Regions from separate parts of the Homo sapiens genome. Here regions 1 and 2 are each linked to region 3. The links are contacts of gene promoters, found by promoter capture Hi-C in blood cells and fetal thymus (Javierre and others, 2016). All regions are on one chromosome and are shown on one strand. Each heading gives the region's core, a stretch centred on a gene start or on the middle of the fragment in contact. The rest is flanking DNA. Distances are from core to core; before and after follow the strand shown. Region 1 overlaps DAD1 (defender against cell death 1). Region 2 holds the start of PABPN1 (poly(A) binding protein nuclear 1). Region 3 holds the start of C14orf93 (chromosome 14 open reading frame 93).

What was found. The method cuts DNA at HindIII sites, captures the fragments that hold promoters and counts their contacts. A CHiCAGO score of 5 or more calls a contact.
Region 1: a fragment that was not itself captured here is called in contact with the fragment with the promoter of C14orf93 in region 3 in 4 of 17 cell types (naive CD4 T cells, erythroblasts, total B cells and 1 more); the score reaches 7.6 in naive CD4 T cells.
Region 2: the fragment with the promoter of PABPN1 here is called in contact with the fragment with the promoter of C14orf93 in region 3 in 1 of 17 cell types (neutrophils); the score reaches 5.3 in neutrophils.

Annotation. Positions count from the first base shown.
Region 1 is chr14:22,562,218-22,566,761 of GRCh38, reverse strand. DAD1 (defender against cell death 1) reads left to right here. Exons shown (of 3, transcript NM_001344.4): 3 at 1,625-1,855. Among named protein-coding and RNA genes, the nearest start is that of LINC02332, 7.4 kb to the right of the region's middle. The HindIII fragment of the contact is 384 bases long and covers 2,585-2,968 here.
Region 2 is chr14:23,319,856-23,324,317 of GRCh38, reverse strand. It overlaps PABPN1 (poly(A) binding protein nuclear 1), which reads right to left and starts at 2,861. Exons shown (of 7, transcript NM_004643.4): 1 at 2,498-2,861; 2 at 2,023-2,137; 3 at 1,252-1,319; 4 at 835-941; 5 at 266-353; 6 at 29-180. The coding sequence starts at 2,848. It overlaps BCL2L2-PABPN1 (BCL2L2-PABPN1 readthrough), which reads right to left. Exons shown (of 8, transcript NM_001387346.1): 4 at 2,023-2,137; 5 at 1,252-1,319; 6 at 835-941; 7 at 266-353; 8 at 1-180. The coding sequence ends at 19. RefSeq lists enhancers at 1,487-2,296, 2,297-3,108, 3,362-3,431, 3,120-3,770 and silencers at 2,402-2,471, 2,532-2,961. The HindIII fragment of the contact is 8,249 bases long and covers 1-4,462 here.
Region 3 is chr14:23,007,741-23,011,708 of GRCh38, reverse strand. C14orf93 (chromosome 14 open reading frame 93) reads left to right here and starts at 1,566. Exons shown (of 7, transcript NM_021944.4): 1 at 1,566-1,608. It overlaps LOC124903286 (a long non-coding RNA gene), which reads right to left. Exons shown (of 2, transcript XR_007064075.1): 2 at 2,725-3,968. RefSeq lists a silencer at 1,228-1,577 and an enhancer at 3,205-3,765. The HindIII fragment of the contact is 8,647 bases long and covers 1-2,930 here.

The DNA.
Region 1 (4,544 bases), core at 1,527-4,026, 450 kb after region 3:
AATAAAATCTTTAAACTTTGATTTTGTACTAAACTAGGATTTCTTTTATATTTCTAAAAGTGTCAAGGCTTTGTTCACTGAAAATGGCATTATGATCTAGTCCTCTCTCACCTTGGCCATTAGAAATGTAATGTAGCCAGGCATGGTGGCCTGTGATCCCAGCACTTTGGGAGGCTGGGGCGGGTGGATCACCTGAGGTCAGGAGTTCGAGACCAGCCTGACCAACATGGTGAAACCCCATCTCTACTAAAAATGCAAAAATTAGCTGGGTGTGGTGGCACACGCCTGTAATCCCAGCTACTCAGCAGGTTGAAGCAGAGAATCGCCTGAACCCGGGAGGCGGAGGTTGCGGTGACCCGAGATCACGCCATTGCACTCCAGCCTGGACAACAAGCACAAAACTCTGTCTTGAAAAAAAAAAAAGCTGTAATGTTATATTGGCTGATAGTCTATTGCCAGAGAGTTTGCTTTAAGAAATTTGATGGAATGAATAGGTGAGTTTGAATAGGTCTGTTTGGTTTTGTTTGGCACTGTGAACACCTTTTGCTTCCTGTTATTGCTCTTTCTTTTATACATTTCTTATAATACCACTGATTCAGGAATGTTCTGCAATTATGTAGCATTTCTGTAAATACCAGTGTTAGTGAAATAAAAGCATTCTGGCTGAAAGTCCAAAATCTCTCCTTTAAGTTCTGATGCCAGAATCTCCAGGTTACTTACTTGACCCAATATACCAAATAAGGTAGTGCCCTTTTTCCTCCTGGGGCAGCCCGGTTCTTCTGAAAGGTAGTATTTCCCAGCCTCTTTTGAGTCATGGTACACGTAGGAGATTGCAGTATTTTTATGGCACACTGGGAAAATCAGTTGCTTATAGCTGGAGACATTGGAGCCCCTAAGGCTGGAGGTCACTTTCCAACCAGAGCTGTGCTGGAGTCCAGTAGGTGGGAGGCTGTGCTTTGAGGGACTAAAGGAAGCCTGTATCTTGTGGTGAGGGTTCCACCTCACAAGTTACAGATCTCAGTTCCATTTGGCTCTAGCAGCAATGTGGCCACTTCTGTTGCGGTTACTCTTTCTTCACCTTTTTCTTGCCAAAAATAAACTTATCTTTAAATGAAAACTAAATTATTTCTTATATTTTGGTCCTTTGTTATAGCTGAGATTGGGAATTTTTCTTTCTTTCTTGAATCCTTACTTCCCTACCCTGCCTCCCCACCAATGGAAATCTGTGCTTCATAAGCATTTTAGATTCCAGAAAGCTCTTTAGGTTAAACTACAACCCTCTCACCTCAAAGAATTTGTGGGCCAGGGAAGTCAGTGACTTATGTGAAGTCTTGCGGCTAATTAATGGTAGAGCTGGAGTTAGGACACATGTCTCACAGTTCCTAGTTCGTTTTGCTTTGATGTGCTTGAAATTCAGTTTTGACATTAATTTTTCTGGATACTACTCCCATAAAATGTTCTTTGAAAAATACTTGCTTCTTTCTAGTTTTTCTCGCCTGGTTTAAATATTGTCCTGAGTGTGGGAACCCCATAACTGTCTTGTGGGTTAGAATTTAGATGGAAGGATTTGGGGCCCTGTCTCTAGTATCATAAGACATTTAACCTTGCTGCTTTTTTCTTCTAGGTTCACTCTTTGAATTTCCTGGATAAGAGTTCTGGAGATGGCAGCTTATTGGACACATGGATTTTCTTCAGATTTGCACTTACTGCTAGCTCTGCTTTTTATGCAGGAGAAAAGCCCAGAGTTCACTGTGTGTCAGAACAACTTTCTAACAAACATTTATTAATCCAGCCTCTGCCTTTCATTAAATGTAACCTTTTGCCTTCCAAATTAAAGAACTCCATGCCACTCCTCCATATGCCTCTGGCTCTGTTTTTATTCTTTGCTGGTATCAGAATCCTTTTTTTCTCTTCAGTCCTCTGTGCTGAACTCTTTATGAGTTGGTAACTTACAGCTGTGAACCTGCCTCCTTGTTTTCATTAAGTATATTTGAAGTTAATGGCAAAAGGCAGTGCTGACAACCCTGGGAAATGGCAGTCCTTTGTCTTCTTCCTGGAGCAGGTAATCCTTTACTAATCCTTCGATTGTTACAGGTGCTTCCACTCTTATGACAGTGCATTCCTGGAACTGCATCATTATGCACTCTGCTAGAAATTGAACTAAGTATGTGCTACCACATTTACATCTGTTTCAACATGTTTTAGTGGTAAAAGTGAAATATATTTCTCTTAGGCAATGTAGACAGAGTGAAAAATGGGGGTTATGTATGTGTTGACTTATAAGATACAATATTTTCCAAAGCACCTTCACAAATATTCTCTCATTTTATTCTTGCAATTATCTTAGGGGTTCCTGTCCTCATTAGTTAGGTGAAGAAATTGAAACTCAGATTTGTGACTTGCTTAAGATCAGAGTTCATGACAAAGCTTGGATGGAATGTAGGTCTGCTGGCTGAAGTCTGTCATGTTCGCAGCCCTGTTTTCATCTTGGGTGCTGTTGGGTTGCTATATATGGGGCGGAAGCTATGTTGAGAATGCCACTACTTAAATTTAGCCAACTACCGAGAATGATGAGTTTCAAGCTTCTCCAACTTGGCTGCACGTTAGCATGACTTGGGTAATGTAAAAAGAAAATCCCAACGTCCAGGCCACAACCCACACCAATTAAGTAAAAATCTCTTGGGGTGGCTTCTGTAGTTTGTAAAGCTACCCAGGTGATTCCAGAGCACAGCAAATTGGAGAAACACTGCTCTGGATTCTTGCTACTCAAAATGTAGTCATTGACTACCAGTATTGGCATCGCCTGGGAGCACAGGCCTCACCCCAAACCTACAGAAGCAACATCTTCATTTTAACAAGGTCCTCCGGTGATTTATGTGCACAATAAGATTTGAGAATCTCTCATCTACAGCAGTGGTTCTCAAAGTTTGGCATGTCTCAAGATTACCTAGGAACTTGGTGAAAAGCTTGGGCCTGTATGTTTCTTATTAGCTCTCTGCCTAACTGGTAACACACTGAGTCAGGAGTCCGCAAGCTTTTCCTTAAACAAATGGGCATGGCTATATTCCACTATCACTTTATTTATAAAAATTGGTTGTGGCTATGTGGGTCATGGTTTGCCATTCTTAAGTGATACTAGTTCATTGAGATTATAACTGAGCAGTTTAATCTGCACTTTTTTTTTTCTTTTTTGTTTTTGTGAGATGGAGTTTTGCTCTCGTTACCCAGGCTGGAGTGCAATGGTGTGATCTCGGCTCACTGCAACCTCCGCCTCCTGGGTTCAAGCAATTCTCCCACCCCAGCCTCCCGAGTAGCTGGGATTATAGGTGCACACCAACATGCCCGGCTAATTTTTGTATTTTTAGTAGAGACAGGGTTTCTCCATGTTGGTCAGGCTGGTCTCAAACTCCTGACCTCAGGTGATCTGCCCGCCTCAGCCTCCCAAAGTGCTGGGATTATAGGCGTGAGCCACTGTGCCTGGCCTAATCTGTTCTAAAACTTATATACAGATGTCACAGACCCTATCAGGAGGCTTCTGGATAATTTTTAGTCTAGAGAAATTGGAATTTTGAATAAGAAAAGCATCTGGACTTTGAGACACGGGTTGAAAACTGGGAATAATAGTAATTTTATGAAGGAAGACATTGTAATTGCAGTCTTTAATACATAGGTTTTGTTTAATTTTTCATAATGATCTTGAGATACATGGGACAGGTATTAAATTCCCATTTACCAGGTCAGCTATTGTCTCAGAGGTTGTGATTTACCCAAGCCAGTTACCATCAACAGGAAACATTCTTCTTTGGTGTGTCTTTTCAATATTTGCTTCGGGGCTAAAACCTACAGACTGCTTTTGGAGTGTTGGGATTAGATTTAGTTAAAGGCTCATTATAGGTAACTCTTGTTTTTATGCTTCTGTTGATTTGCTTTATGGTTCTCAATTTGACATGTACTGAAGAATTAGCTGTGGACCTGTGAGTAGCCGCTGCACTCCAGCCTGGGCAACAATGTAAGACCCTGTTCTTAAAAGAGGCCAGGCATGGTGGTTCATGCCTGTAAATCCCAGCACTTTGGGAGGCCGAGGTGGGTGGATCACCTGAGGTCAGGAGACCAGCCTGACCAATATGATGAAACCCTGTCTCTACTAAAAATACAAAAATTAGCCAGGCGTGGTGGCATGAGCCTGTAATCCCAGCTACTCAGGAGTCTGAGACAGGAGAATTGCTAGAACCTGGTAGGCGGAGGTTGCAGTGAGCCGAGATTGTGCCATTGCACTCCACCCTGGGCAACAGAAGCGAAACTTCATCACAAAAAGAAAAAAAAAAAAGACAACACTGAAAAAGCGCCAGGTGCTCAGTGGCTTACACCTGTAATCCCAGAACTTTGGGAGGCCAAGGTGGAAGAATGGCTTGAACCCAGGAGTTCAAGACCAGCCTGGGCAACACAGTGAGTCCCTGTCTCTACAAAAATTAAAAAAATTAGCTGGGCGTGGCAGTGCACCTCTGTAGTCCCAGCTACTCGGGAGGCTGAGTTTGGAGAGTCAC
Region 2 (4,462 bases), core at 1,612-4,111, 310 kb before region 3:
GAAAGAGGAGCAGCCCATCTATCCTGACCTGTAGACGCGACCCCGGGGCCTGCTGTTAAAACCACTGTAGAATCGAGAGCGGGAGCTGTTGTAGTTGGTGGTCCGGGCGCGGTAGCGGGCTCGTGGAAAACCCCGGTCTGTTGTGCTGATGCCTGGTCTGTTGGTTCGTTTTGGGATCACCTGAGTCAGAGATGAACAAATGATAGCCTTAAAGGCAACCTGGAGAGTTTATACACAACTAGAACAGCAATGGACATAGGCTTACCTTGATTTGCCTTCCTCTAAATAGGGACTCATCTAAGGCCAAGGAAGTCCTCACTGACTCTTTGTCTGAGAACTCTATATACGCAAACCTGAAAAGAATTGTCATTGTATCTCTCTGAGGTTACAAATACCTCACAGGTCAAATTCAACCTGCAGGCATGCTTCGTTTTGGGCTACAATGCAGTTATATTTTTTATTTGTCAAAATTCTTCTAAATGGAAAATTTCAATCATTCGAAATCATTTAAATTTTAAAATTTCCAGCTACTCTTTGAAATTTGTAAAAATAAGACACACAGGGCCTGAATTTCCATATGGCCATAATAGGCCAAGTAGAAGCTGCCCCTCCCCTTCTAGTTCGTAATCCCACCCACATCTAGCCTTCATTTTTGTTATCTGGCCTCTGAAGACATTTAGGTGCAACTCCTGATATATCAACATTAATGCCATGATCTTAAATGACACAGATCACCTGTGTTAACACCAAATAACTTACTGCTCAATATAAAACATAATTTATCTATTTGTACACTGTAATTTAAATTATCTCAACTTACTCCCCTTTACTTACCCTTTGGGATGGCCACTAAATTTGTCACACAGTATGGTAACACGGTTGACTGAACCACAGCCATGAAAGTGAGCTTCCAGCTCTTCTGCTGTTGCACCATAGTCCACCTGATGAGAGGAGAAAAATTTCACAGGCACCAGGCAAATTCCTGTCTCAAAAGGAACCCTCCCGAGCCTTTGGTCTGGGCCATCATACACCAAAGCACATGAAATCTGGTAATTTGAGGAATTAATCTCTTTTCCTTCCAAACCCAGAGCCTTTGCTGATTACTGATCATTCCATTACCTTTAACCTCCTTCCCACACTCCCTCCACACCCAAAACCACATCTATCCCGGAGATGTTCCTTTCAGGACTATTAAATAATTCCCCAAAAGAAGAACTTGCCCCCAACCCCAGTCAGAGCCCCAGTACGTACATTGCCAACATAGATGGAACGGGCATCAGCCTCCATCTTCTCCTCAATGGACATGATCACCGGGCCAGCTATCAGGAAAAAATAATTTTTTACAAAAACCACACACTTGTTTTCTACTTGACCAATATGTTGCACTTCCACCACCAGCACTATCCCATAAGCTCAGTGAAGGCAAAGATTTTGGTCTGTGCTGTTCCCTGCTGTACCCACAACCGAGAATAGTGCCTAGTGCATAGCAGGTACTCACTAAATATTCAATAAATTGAAAGAATTAATACACACTTAAAACAGTATAGGAATCCCTCCTGCCTCCAAATCAAATCCCTAATGAATGGCTTTGGTTGAAATGCTTTTAAGAGTGAGCAAAATTAAGTGGGCTGAGACTCCACATTTCTAGATTAAAGGGGAAACCCCTTGCAGCTTGCTTTCTCTTAGAATCCTAAAGCGTCTCCAATTGGAGGAAAAACTATTAGATTTGAAGGTCAAATGCGAGCACGCAACCTCTACAAAGAAAGATAGACGTAGACTAAGAACAAAGAGCAACACAATTATAACAGGCACAAAGGGAGGCACAAGGCTACCACCACCAAAATATACGTTCTGCCTCACAAAGGTCAGAGGAACACACAACGGACTATGACCGCGGCACAGTCATAATAGCTCAGACAAGCAGCTCCAGGGTGCCGAGTATCTAACCCCACATTCCCCATCCTCCCCACAACCCTTCCAACCCGAGAACCCGGGCTCCGCGTGCAACCGCCAGTTACTCACCATTGCCTGGAGGTGGACTCATATTCATCTGCTTCTCTACCTCGTTCTGTAGCTCCTTTAGCTTCTCAGCTTCTTCCTCCATCTCCCTGACTCGAGCTTTGATAGCTTCCAGCTCCTAATATAAGTGGGGAGGGTATGGAGGACAGCTTAAGAGGAACCAACGCAGGGGCTGTGCCCTGCTCTCGGCCAGAGCGCGGCCTCAGCCATGCTCGGCCATTTCCCTCGCCCCATGCGAGGGTCGTGATAAAAGAAAAGCTACCCTCTCTAGAACAACACTAGGCAACCGTGACGCCCGAATCAAGCCAGTCGGGCCCCTTGTAGTGATCGCTGACCCATCCCCGGCCCGACCCGGCCCCAGCCACGTTATTCCCCGCCCAACCCCACCCCCCGCCTGCCACCCGCTCGCCCGAGCTCTGGGCCTCCAGTGACCCGGCCGGCCAGCCGCCGGCCTGCTCGCTCGCCCTCCTTCCCTCACCGGGTCCTCAATGGCGCCGTCCCCCGGGTCACCCTCGACCAGTCCCGGCTCCTCCTCCTCCTCTTGGCTGCCGGGGGCTCCCGAACCAGGCCCAGGGCCCGGAGCTCCCGGGGGGGCGCGGGGCCGGGGCGGCTCCTCTTCGGGCTCGGGCTCCGGCTCGGGCTCCAGCAGCAGCTCCTCAGGCTCCAGTTCCTCAGACTCCAGGCCGTTCCCGTAGTCCCCTGCGCCCCCCGGGGCCCCCTCCCCGGCCTCCCCACCGGCCCCGGGCACAAGATGGCGCCGCCGCCCCGGCCCGGAGCCCCGACCGCCCGCAGCCCCCGCTGCTGCTGCCGCCGCCGCCGCCGCCGCCATCGCCGCTCAGACTGGGGCCCGCCGCCCGGCGATTGGAGAGCTGCGCCGGCCACGCCGAGGACTCATTAGTCAAGCTGCCTGCCCGTCACCATGAGCTAGTACTCCATTGGGGAATATTACTTGGCAATCAAATAAGGCCCCACCTCTAAGGCGGGGCACTGCGCCAAATTCTCAAATCCCGGTAGGGGAAATCTGCCTGTCAATCAACACGCGTCCCACCTCCTATCGAGTCCTTAGGTAATAATACCGCCACGCTGTGACGATATTCCTGCTTCTCCCCGGCCTACGGGCGGGCCCGCGAAGTATGGGACGCTCCGTGATTGGCCCTAGCTAGGCGACTGGAAAGGACCAATCTTCCGATCGCCTCACCGCAGTGGCCCAGTCTCAGATGCCGATTGGCTTGCGAGAGTCGAAGGGGTGACACTCGTTTCGTGACAGGTGAACCTTGCCCCCGAAAGGACTGCCGGGCTTCAAACTTGGGAAACCCGAGGTCACATGACTAGCCAGTCCTAGGGGGCCGCCATCTTGATACTACTGCTTGCCAGCTAGTGAGCTGTTGGCCGGGTGAGGCCCAAAACAGAGCAGCAGTTTCAGGAAACTTGTATCTCGACCAGGAAGCACCAGTAGATGGGATGTTGCTGAAAATGGAGGTTGTGAATGAAGCATTCCAGGAGGGAGCTTACTTTCCCCATCCAGGTTATTGGCACCATCATCCACTAGCTCTCCCGCACCAGAAAGCAGGGAGGATTCCTCAGTCCAGAGCTACTAGTCACAAGTCCTGTCTGTCCCGCCCTCTTGCGTAGGCCTTCTGCTCCCCAGTTCCATTTTCTTTTTCCTGGACAGCTTCCAATGTCACCCCTCCAATCTGCACCGCTAACAGACTGGCCCCCCTTTGCTGGCGAGGTAAAGTCTCAAAACCGTAAATCACGGCCTTCGATACGCCAGCATGTGGTTACTTTGTGGATGTTGTTTCCTTCCACTCTTCTCGTTCCTTTGGGTGTACCTGCACCCAGTCTGTGCCTCTAACATGTAGTCCCCCTTCAATCAAACCACTGCAAACCCCAGCTTCCCCTCATTTCCCAGGACAAGTGGGCCTATCTCCACGGCGCGCTTAATTGTTTTACTGTTTCCTAACTAGGTTGTGAGCGCCTGCAGATGAGGGGCCGGTTCCTATTTATATTCGCATCTCCACGGCCTGGCAATATGCCTACCACATAATGTCCTGTTAGATGTTTGTTGATTGAACAGGCATTGATTGGGGATTTGGGTGCCACCCTTCATTTAAGCCCTCAAGCCCCCAAGATCCCAGAGGAATTTCTCCTGGCAGGTTCCCACTACACCCCTGCACCCCAAGTACCAATGAGACCTAGCCCTGGAAGGCAGGACTGCCATATTTTGGTAGCAGTCCTACACATTTATTAAAAAGAAAGGAATGGCAGTGTACGTTTGCAAGAGAAATTTTTGTGGGCACACTAACCTACAGTTCGAAAGATACATATAGCCCAACCAAAAAGTTAAACAAACATGGTTGGCCGAGGGATTTGGACAAGAGAAGATCCTCATTAGCAAACCAAAAAATCAAGTGACTCATTATACCCCACTATTCCCCTCACC
Region 3 (3,968 bases), core at 317-2,816:
AATAAATAAATGATTTTTTTGGTCAGTGTTTACTAAATATCTACAATTATGCCAGCTACTGCAGTAAGAATCAAACAGTTCCTGGATGGAAAAACAATTTTAAGATATGATCACTGACCTCAAACAGTTTACTGGAGTGAAATTACTAAAATATGTGAATCAAGGTAGAGTTACGTGCCGCTAACTGGAGTACACATGAAATTCATGTTGATGGGAGCGGAGAGAAGGAAGTAAGCAGTCTGTGCTGAAAGAGAATGGATAAAAATTGACCAGTCAGGGAAGGGGAGACGCATAATTCAGGCCAAAAAAAAAAAAAAAAGCCACTTGAGTAAAGGAATAATACAAGATTGATAAGACGAGCGTAGAGGGAACTAAGAACAAATATGTGCCCAGGCGCGGTGGCTCACGCCTGTAATCCCAGCACTTTGGGAGGCCAAGGCGGGAGGATAACTTGAGGTCAAGAGCTCAAAACCAGCCTGGCCAACATGGTGAAACCCCGTCACTACTTAAAAAAAAAAAATAGCCGGGCGTGGTGGCATATATCCGTAATCCCAGCTACTCGGGAGGCTGAGGCAGGAGAATCGCTTGAGCCTCGGAGGTGGGGGTTGCAGTGAGCCGAGATCACATCACTGAAAAAAAAAAAAAAAAGGCAGGGTGGGCACATCACCTCAAGTCAGGAGTTCAGGACCAGCCTGGCCAACATGGCGAAACCCTGTCTCTACCAAAAACAAAAAAAATTAGCTGGGTGCAGTGGCGCACGCCTGTAGTCCCAGCTTCTTGGGAGGCTGAGGCAGGAGAATCGCTTGGGCGGGGTGGGGGTGGGGGTGGGGGTGGGGGCGGAGGGGCGGAGTTTACAGTGAGCGAAGATCATACCACTGCACTCCAGCCTGGGTGACAGAGCGAGACTCTGTCTAAATAAATAAATAAATAACAAATAGGTGGGTGGGACCAGATTATGGGTGGCTTAAAATCCAGGTATACCAGCTGTCTTCCTGGAAATAAAGAGGAGCCACTTTAGTTTTGAGAATGTGGTCTGAGCCAGGTAGATAAACTGGGAGCTCGGGCTGAAGTGTAAGACTTCAGAAAGATGTTCCATACGTGAATGTTCATTTAAACGTGGGGGTGTTAAGCAACACACGTGACCCAGAGACATTTCACCTGGAAACCGGAGTAGGGCCCACGCACCAAGTCCCTGATGTTTAATTGCAGTCTAGAATGTTACTGACTAGTTCACTCAATTTAACAAAGTGTCCGGAGGTCGCTCACTGGATTGTTATGCTGGTGACTGGGCCTTGTTTCACTGAGAAAAAAAGATGGGAAAGGGTGACAGGACGGTGAGAAAGTGAAAGGGAGAGAGGTGGGAAAGGGGTCTGCCAAGGTCCAGGCGAGGTTGGGGGTCGGGGGTCCGGCGGCCCTCAGGGCCCCCCCCGCCCCCAACTCCGGGGTTGGCGCCTCGGGCGCGGCGCGTGTGCTTGCGGGCGGGGCGCCCCGCGGCCGCGGACGGCCAATCCGGGAGGGCGTCCGGGGAGGGGCGGGGCTTGCCGGCTCGGGCTCCGCGAGTCCTCCTTTTTGCACACACACGAATACAAAGAGCCATACGACCTTCGGGTATCCTTTTTCCATTTTTTTTCCTCCTTAATCTTGTGTGTGTTTTCAAATTTTTTAAAAATAGAGATCTGTAGCAGTGTTGGGGTGAGGAAACTGTTGCTAAGGGGAATTTGCTCTTTCCCCCATTTCTTTTTCTGTCTCTCTTCCTCTTTCTTTTTCCTGGTCAAGGTTTTAAATATACCAAGAAGTTGAGAAGCAGGATGGCCGTGTACAACCGTTTCCGGCCAAATTTATAGTTTTTTTTTCTTTTTTTTAAATCACATTTTAAGAACTGGTAGATTTTTGTGGTTGAGGGACTTTAAAAATTTAGCCGCTTGGGAAGTACAGAATTTTTTAAGCGGGCTGAAGGGATAATGTAAATTTCTGCCACAGGCAACATCGAAGGAAGCAGAGAGATTTGAGGCTCCCTCATAAAGCCGTTTGCGTGCTTTTTACACACCCACCCCCCCAGAACCAAAACCAAGTGGCTGGGATGTGGCACTTGTCCAAGGCCAATAAGTTAATATTGGGATATTATAATGGAGACATTCATTTCCCTAGGGAAGGGGGAAAGACCTTAATTACAGTGTGTCTTTCACACACATTTTCATTAGAACATTTGTGTGTGTGTGTGTGTGTTTCTTGAAACAAATTTGTAAAGTTATAACTTGGGGTTATTTGTGTATATGTACAATATGTGTGTATATGTGCCATATCAGATTTTATTTTCAAAAGTGATAAATATATCTGGTTTTATGTGTGCAAAGTATCCCCTAGGATGTGAATTTTTTTCCGTTGTCTTCCCAAATGTGATCAAAATATTTTGTGTGCAAAGCAGAGCTTAGAAGAAATCCTATGCTTAGCATACTTAGGCACTTTCTATGTGCATTTACTATATTTTTCTGCTCCTAAAGGATCAGAATAATGAATAATTAAATAATTGCCAAGGAGTATATAGTCCATGTGGCAAATGAGAGTAGGCAATTTATTGAATCTGTGGTTCAAAGCCTTCAGTGACTGTTTTGCCTAAGTGGTTTTGCTTTTTATTGTCTCACGTTCTTAAGTGTACAGCTGTGTATATTTTGGCCTTTATGTGTGGTTTGGTTGGTGTGTTCAGAAGGGAAGTTCTTTCTTGGCTTTTTGACAAAATGGTCGTTTATTGGTTGGAATATTCGAAAAGCTCCACAGCTGGCAAAGTATCAGGAAAAAAATCCAGTCAAGTGTAATTCTCAAAAACTGTTCATGGTGATGGTGATGGGGAGCCAAGAGGATGCAAAGGCAAATAATAGAAGGGATAAGAAATGCCTTTTGGTTATCATGTTGCATTTTTAGAATGGAAAGCTTCTCATTTCTAAGAGTCACAGAAAAAAGTATATGAATTAGAGAAAAACAGGCTCGCAGAGCAGAACCTCCTGTTATAGGAGCCCTATTTTCACTTCATTCTGTTACAGAATCACTATCTCCTCATTAGAAGTTGTATGGAAAATATCTGTATCCAAATTTGTATTCGCAGATTGGAGTGAAAGCATAGGAGGTATATGAGGTGCTGAGGGAGAAACTGGAATGTCACAAATGCAGTGACAACCAGGAGACAAAAAAAAAAATCTACTGTAGAATTTAAATTTCATTACAACAAAACTTCTGTATAATAATGCATTTCTATTACACAGCTAGCATCCTACTCTATTTCAAGCAGTATTTGACTCCTAAATACTGACTGCAATAAAGTTACTTGTACAAATTTATAACAAAAGTGGCCCTGTTTGGGCTTTCTGGGTTTCTTACTTGTGCTGAGTGTATTTTTATTCTCTAACAATTCAAGTCAGACCAGTGCTTAATAAATACTGGCTCGACTGTGGATTATTCCACAATTTCAGACCTGCATTTCTTTGAAATCTAGTCACATTTTAGTGATCTTTGTGATCACAACAGTGATGGGAGTTTTTTTTTTTTTTTTTTTTTTTTTTGAAACGGAGTTTCGCTCTTGTTGCCCAGGCTGCAGTGGCAATGGTGCGATCTTGGCTCACTGCAACCTTCGCCTCCTGGGTTCAAGCGATTCTCCTGTCTCGGCCTCCCGAGTAGCTGGGATTACAGGCATGTGCCACCATGCCGGGCTGATTTTTGTATTTTTAGTAGAGACGGGGTTTCACCATGTTGGTCAGGCTGGTCTCCAACTCCTGACTTTAGGTGATCCGCCCGCCTCTGCCTCTCAAAGTGCTGGGATTACAGGCGTGAGCCACCGCGCCCGGCCAGTTACGGGAATTTTTAATGGAGTTTTACCCTTTTTAGCTCTTTTCCACATCACTACAGGTCATCACATATACTTTTTACCTTACTTTTTAGCGTCTCAAAAAATAGGGAGAGCTCTCCCTGAACAGTGC